Regions from separate parts of the Homo sapiens genome. Here region 1 is linked to region 2. The links are contacts of gene promoters, found by promoter capture Hi-C in blood cells and fetal thymus (Javierre and others, 2016). All regions are on one chromosome and are shown on one strand. The core of a region is centred on a gene start or on the middle of the fragment in contact, and the rest is flanking DNA. Distances in the headings are between cores, read along the strand shown.

Region 1 (3,692 bases), core at 164-2,663, 110 kb before region 2:
GAAGTTCTAGAATTAAAAGTGTGAGCCACCATGCCCGGCCCATATTTTCCTTTTTGTTTGCATGCCTTGTACATTTTAGTTAAAAACAACATTTTAAATTATGTAATGTGAAAAATCTGAGCATCAGATTCTACCTCCACCAATTCCCAGTGTTTGTTGTTGCTGTTGTTTCTGTGATATGTTTGTTTAGTGGCCACCCTGTGCCAATTCTGTAAAGTCTGTATTCTTTGTAGCATTCAGCCACTGAAGTCTCTGGTTGGTTAGCTTACTGGCCAGCTAATGATTGGACAGAGATTTCCTGAAATGCCTTGAAGCAATAAATCTCCCACTCTCTTCAAGGTCTGTGTGTGTGTGTTTGTGCATGTCTTCAATTCTCCCAGCAGCTTACAACTCTGCCTTAGCCTTTACTTCTTGGTTGCACAGAGCCTTAAGGTCAGCCAAGGTTCAAGGTTAGGGGCTTTTCAGGTCCTTCCTGGGTAAGCGCATGTTCTTTACATGCAGGAATAAGCTTTTCAAGGCCCATGTGGCCATCTCATTCCCCAGATTTTCCTTTTTTTTTTTTTTTTTTTTGTCTAGCCCCTTGTTTTACTCAACTGGTATTGTCACTTCAGGCGGCTGCAGTGTTAAACAGTTGCTGTTGATTGCTCATCTACTCTGGGGATGGGACTATTCACACAGAGTGACTCTAAGTTTGATCATATTCTCCAGCCCTGAGTCTCAGCAAGCTGCCAGATAGGCATAATAGTGATGGTTACCTGAGAATGGGCTTCTTGAGAAGCTCCAAACCTGTTCTTTTCCCACCAGTGGTTGCTAGTCTTCTGTTTCTCATGGCCACCATGATTATGAGGTTTCCAATTTTTGTCTTTTGCAGAACTGGAGAGAGAGGCATGGGAATAATGGAATAATGGGAATGGGGCAAGTTAAAACACACACAGTTTCTTTTTTTTGAGACAGGGTCTCACTCTGATGCCCAGGCTGGAGTGCAGTGGCATCATTATGGTTTACTGCAGCCTGGACTTCCTGGGCTCAGGTGATCCACCTCAGCCTCCCAAGTAGCTGAGACCACAGGCATGCAGCACCATGCCTGGCTAATTCTCATGTTTTTTTTGTAGAGATGGGGTCTCACTATATTGCCCAGGCTGGTCTCCAACTCGTGGCCTCAAGTGATCTGCCCATCTCAGCCTCCCAAAGTGTTGGGATGATAGTCGTGAACCAGCATGCCCAGCCCAAAGTTTGCTCTTTAACAAGATTCAGCTGTTTTTCTTAAACACTCCTCAGATTGTTGCAAGCTGTTGGTTAACTTCCACAGTTATGTAAAAGTTAATTTTTGCAAAATTTTTTAGAGTTTTTCTTTCTTTCATGGAGGAGCAGATTTTTTAGGGTCCTTATTCTGCCATTCTAGAGTGGTGCTTCTCTATAGTGGTGTTGTTGTTGTTGTTGTTGTTGTTTAGACGGATTTTTATACTTGTCACTTAGGCTGGAGTGCAATGGTGCCATCTTGGCTCACTGCAGCCTCCACCTCCCAGGTTCAAGCGATTCTCCTGTCTCAGCCTCCTGAGTAGCTGGGATTACAGGCTCCCATCTTCACACCCAGCTAATTTTTGTATTCTTAGTAGAGATGGAGTTTTCACTATGTTGGCCAGGCTGGTCTGGAATTCCTGACCTCAGGTAATCTGCCTGCCTTGGCCTCCCAAAATGCTGGGATTACAGGCGTGAGCCACCACGCCCGGCCCTCTATAGTGTTTTGAATATCACCTTATATAGCTGTTTTAATAGTTGTTCTAAGTATTTTATTACATATACAAAACATATTACAATATACTGATGTCATTTTATCAGCCTGAGTGAAATATAGAAGTCATACCTCTCTGTGTCTCTTTACTCCCCCTGTTTTTAATATATTTGTCTTAAATATTTCTATACATACATTTATAGCAGTATCAGGCTGTTAGAATTTTTGCTTTTTTTTTTTTTTTTTTTTTTTTTTGAGGCAGTGTCTCGCTCTGTCACCAGGTTGGAGTGCAGTGGTGCAATCTTAGCTCTTGGTAACCTCCGCCTCCCGGGTTCAAGTGATTCTCCTGTCTCAGCCTCCCAAGTAGCTGGGACTATAGGCGAGCGCCACCACGCCCAGCTAATTTTTGTATTTTTAGTAGAGATGGGGTTTCACTGTGTTGGCCAGGGTGGTCTCCATCTCTTGACCTCGCAATCTGCCCACCGCGGCCTCCCAAAGTGCTGGGATTACAGGCTTGAGCCACCACACCCAGCCAGAATTTTTGCTTTTAAACATCAAACATAATTTAGAAAAGTCAGAAATGAAGAAAAGCTTATTATATTTACAGGTATTTTTGTTTCCTTCTTCCTTGCTGATATTCCAAAGTTTAGTTTATTGTTTCCTTTCTGTTTAGAGTACCTCCTTTTGCCGCTTTTAAATAATAGTTCTGTTGGTAACACATTTTGCTGGTTTTCCTTCATTTGAGAATGTCTAGAGTTCCTTTTCATTCTTGAAGGACATCGTTGCTGGGTATAGGATTCTGGAGTAACGGTTCTTTTCTCTCAGCACCTGAAAAGTTTTTGTGTCACTTTCTTTTGGTCACTGTGGTTTCTGATGAGAAGTTGGTTATCATGAATTATTTTTCAAGATTATTTCTTTGTCTTTAGTTTTCAAAAGTTTAATTATGATATATCTTGAGATTGCTTTGGGTTTATCCTGTTTGGTGTTTGCTGGACTTCTTGAAGCTGTGGGTTTATGTCTCTGACCAATTTGGGAAGCTTTCAGCCATTGTCTTTTTGAGTACTTTTTTAGTCCTACCGTCTTTCTCCTCTTTTTCTGGGACTCTTATGACATAAATGTCAGGTGTTTGTTTGTTTGTTTGTTTGTTTGTTTGTTTGAGATGGAGTTTCATTCTTGTTGCCCAGGCTGGAGTGCAATGGCGTGATCTTGGCTCACCGTTGCAACCTCTGCCTCTTGGGTTCAAGCGATTCTCCTGCCTCAGCCTCCCAAGTAGCTGGGATTACAGGCATGCACCACCACGCCCAGCTACTTTTGTATATTTAGTAGAGACGGGGTTTCTCCATGTTGGTCAGGCTGGTCTTGAACTTCCGACCTCAGGTGATCCACCCACCTTGGCCTCCCAAAGTGCTGGGATTACAGGTGTGAGCCACCGTGCCCAGCTGATCTTTTGTTACAGGTCCATGGGATTCTGTTTATTTTTATTTTCTAGTCTTTTATATTTTTATTTTTTAGTGGGTCTCACTATGTTACTCAGGCTGGTCTTGAACCCCTGGGCTCAAGTGATTCTCCCATCTTAGCCTCCAGAGTAGCTGAAACTACAAGCACATGCCACCATGCCCTGCCACAGCCATTGTTCTCTCTGTTGTCCAAATTGGCTAATTTCTGTTGTCTGTCTTCCAGTTCACTGATTCTTTCCTTGACCTCCATTATTATTTTCACTGTAACTTCCATTCTGCTGTTGAGTATATCCAACTGAGTTTTTTTTTTTTTTTTTTTTTTTTTTGAGACAGGGTCTCACCTCTGTTGCCCAGGCTGGAGTGTAGTGGTATGATCACAGCTCACTGCAACCTCTGCCTCCTAGGCTCAAGCAATCCTCCCACATCCGCCTCCCAAGAAGCTGGGACTACAGGTGCATGCCACCGTGTCTTGCGAATTTATTTTTGGTATTTTTGGTAGAGAC
Region 2 (3,553 bases), core at 295-2,794:
CCACCCTATCTCGGTGCCTTCTTCTGGGGAACCAGAAACACCCTCCAACAATAAAGAGGCCCTTTGAGACGGGGCAGCCCACTGTCACCTGCTAGGACCTGGGAACCCTACCCTGCAAAGAAACTGCGGATCCCCACGAAGGTGGGGAGGAAACCTCCACCCAAGAGGCAGCCAGGGAAAACAGCAGAGATCCCTAGAAGCCCATGTTGGGCTCCCGTTTTGGGCTCTGAGTGAGCCTGTATTGAGAGGGGTCCGGTGGCTGGTTGGGCCATGGCTCCAGGAGTCCCCGCGCTGCCTCACCTTCTGTGCCTGGCTGATCATCTTCCGCACCACCTCTTTGATGTGGGCCTGCCCGTCTATGGGGGGCTGCATGTAGACGCTAGCCCGGGTCACGCCGCGGTAGGCGATGGTGTCGGGCCAGCCCAGGTCCAGCTGCGGGATGGAGCGGTCCGACTTCTGGGGCCAGTACTCCAGGGAGGGCAGCGGCTCGGCCTCGATGGGGACCCCATCCGCCCCGCTGGCTTCCTCGCCGTCGCCGACCCCATTGTCCTCGGGCCCCTGAGAGGGGCCCGTGCCCCGAGGGTCCTCAGAGCCCGGGTCGTACACCTCGATGGTCTCCAGGATGCGCTTGAGCTCCAGCTCCGAGAGGAAGTCTCGGATGTTCTCCCGCTTGAGCACCTCGTAGAAGGCGTCCCGGCCGCGGGCCACCAGGGCCTCCAGCGCCAGCCGCTGCTCCTCGCTGTAGAAGAACTCAGGCTTGGACTCGCTGGAGCGCCAGTTCACATGGTTGTCGTCCAGACACTGCACCTGAGAGAAGGCCATGGCGCCGCCTGCCCGGGCACTGCTGCCGGGGGTGGGTGGGCAAGGTCCAGCTCCTAGCTCCGGCCCAGCTGGGGCACCGCGCGCTCGGGGGCCTCTCCGCGGCCTCTGCTTCTCTGCCCATGAGCAATCTGCGGGAAAGACCTGATGAGCCCGGCTCGGCGGGGAGGGCGGGCCGCGCGGGGAGGGGCGGCGGGGGCGGGGCCGGGAACTCAGGTGGGCGTGGGAAGGACGGGGCTGGGGCTGGGGCTGGGAAGATGAGGTGGGGGCACTGGACTGGGATGGGAAGAAAGTAAGGGATCGGAACAGCGGTGAGGGAGCGGTGGGCCACGTCCCAGGGCTCAGCGTGCCTCTACGTGCAGGGAACCCATATCCCAGATTTCCGGAGCTGCCTGAAGTCCTCGCAACTTCTGAGGGAAACTAGGGCAGCCGGGGAACTTCCCAGTAGCTTCTTAGAGTGGGAGGCGGCCCCGGCACAGAGGCGCCCCGCAAACCGAGGGCTTCCGGGTAAGGGAGGGGTCTTAAAATTTCCGGGTGCCGGCAACCCAGGAGGCCTGCCCGGAGGAGGCTGGGGCTCTGGGAGGGGTCCAGGAGACCCAGAAACGCGGTTGCGGGGCGGCGACGCCCCGCGAGACCCGGGATCCGGGGGGCGCGGCCGGGACTTGCTTACCGAGCGGGCGCTGGCGGAGCGGGGCGCACACGCGGCGGCTGCGGCGGCGGCGCGAGGCTGGGCGGGGGCGCGCCGGTGACTCAGGGCCGCCCCGCTTACCCCGCCGCCGCCACCTGCGGTCACGTGCCGCCCGGGGCGGGGCCGGAAGCTGATTCACCCCTCGACAGACAGACAGACCTGGGGCGGACGCACTGCCCACGGTCCCCTGGTGCCCGAATTCCGAAAATATCAGAGGCCTAAGCCCAAGAGCTCCTGGAACACCCATCCCAGAGAGGGACAGTGTTCTCCCTGAGGTCACACAGCGGGTCAACAGCCTTGGCACCCCCCTGTGCCCCCAGGGTCTGTTGGTGATCCTGGATCAACCCTGGCTGTGCCCAGTTTCGCCGGCGTGGCGGGAAGTCCGTGCGGCTGTATAGATACCCAGCTGTCCAGTTGTGGAAACAGGTCTAGGGTACTGGGCTGGGAGCCCCCAGGCAGGGATAGGGCACTGACTGACCCAAACTCAGGGCTTTCCTGAGCAGATACCCAGTTCTCAGTCCTAAGCCCTGATCCCCTCTGGGAGGGGTCCCCGGACTGCTTCTGCGTGGCGGGCAGCACCCGACCTGAACCCTAGGGCAGGGAGGGGCCAAGAGGGCCGCTGTGGGCTGGGGTCAGGCCCAGCTCTCTGCTGAGCGTCCCCTGGGGTTGGGACCCTGGTTATGGGGAGCGTGGAGACCACATCTGAAGGCAGGCTTTGAGGGTGGGACAGCAAAGCCCATTAAATCTGGCCCAACAAACAGCCCCCACCCCATCGCGTGCCGCAGCCAGTCTGCCCGGCACCAGGCCCAGCCCTTCCTCCCATCCCCCATACTTGCTCTGGATCTGGATGGGGCTGGTTTGGGTCCCGTAAGGATGCTGCTTCCGTAGGCTGGTGACATCTCTAGGCCTTGTGCCCTCAAACCCCCCCCCTCCAAGGCCTTCTCCACCATTCATGGCCCATCAGGACTCCTTGCCTCTGAGTCCACTGCCCTGGGCAATGACTAGCCTCCTAGGCCCAGCATCCTTGTGGTCCCCATCACTGACCCCTCAAGCATGAAGTCCTACACTCTGCCATATAGCCCCCCAAGGGCTTTATGCTACTGAACATAGTGGCCCCTGGGGAACAGGCACACATATTTGCATCCTCCTCCTGCCCCAGGGCCAGAGAGGGGAGGTGATCCCAGCGGGGGAGCCCTGCCTTGAGGGTCCTGAAGACCCATTTATAGCCCCTCTGCTACTGTGGATCCCCTGTAAGACCTTCTCTGAGCCGCCTCAGCTTCTCCCTGTGTTCTTACCAATGCACAGAGGCTGGAGAGTTCAGGAAGGGAGTCCAAGGCCTCACTCCCACCTCCACCACCCCAACACTTCTGCAGTTGATGAGCAGGAAGGTTGTATGCACCCAGTTTTCCCCAGTAGCGACGTTTTGCATAACTATAATACAATAATATCACAGCCAGAAAATTGACACTGGTGCAATCCACAAAGCTTATTTAGATTTCACCAGTTTTTTGTTTGTTTTGGGACAGGGTCTTGCTCTGTCACCTAGGCTGGAGTGCAGTGGTATGTACAATCATTGCTCAATGCAGCCTTGAACTCCTGGGCTCAAGCCTCAGCCTCCTGAGTAGCTGGGACCAGAGACACCATGCCCAGCTAATTTTTTTTCTTTTTTCTTTTTTCTTTTTTTTTTTTTTTTGTAGAGACAAGGCCTCACTATGTTGCTCAGACTGGTCTCAAACTCCTGGCCTCAAGTGATTCTCCCACCTTGGCCTCCCGAAGTTCTGGGATTATAGGCGTGAGCCACTGCACTGGCCAGATTTCACCAGTTTTACATGCACTCATTTATGTGTGTTATACAACCTTATTATGTGTATAGATTTGTGTAACCACCATTACAGTCAAGATACAGAACTGTTCTGTCACTACAAAGATCTCCTTCTCTGTAGCCATCCCCACACCTCCCCCGACCACCATTCCTAACTTCTGGCAACCACTAATCTATTCTACAATTCAACAATTTTGCTGTTTCAAGAATGCTATATAAATGGA

Evidence for each region. Contacts are between HindIII fragments. The CHiCAGO score rates a contact against its expected background, and 5 or more counts as called.
Region 1: a fragment that was not itself captured here is called in contact with the fragment with the promoter of FAM83G in region 2 in 1 of 17 cell types (naive CD4 T cells); the score reaches 5.1 in naive CD4 T cells.

The regions. Positions count from the first base shown.
Region 1 is chr17:18,896,031-18,899,722 of GRCh38, forward strand. All of the region lies in intron 8 of PRPSAP2 (phosphoribosyl pyrophosphate synthetase associated protein 2), which reads left to right. Among named protein-coding and RNA genes, the nearest start is that of PRPSAP2, 40 kb to the left of the region's middle. The HindIII fragment of the contact is 1,815 bases long and covers 507-2,321 here.
Region 2 is chr17:19,003,220-19,006,772 of GRCh38, forward strand. It overlaps FAM83G (family with sequence similarity 83 member G), which reads right to left and starts at 1,545. Exons shown (of 6, transcript NM_001039999.3): 1 at 1,490-1,545; 2 at 301-950. The coding sequence starts at 822. All of the region lies in intron 9 of SLC5A10 (solute carrier family 5 member 10), which reads left to right. RefSeq lists silencers at 1,417-1,716, 3,237-3,531. The HindIII fragment of the contact is 3,596 bases long and covers 1-2,990 here.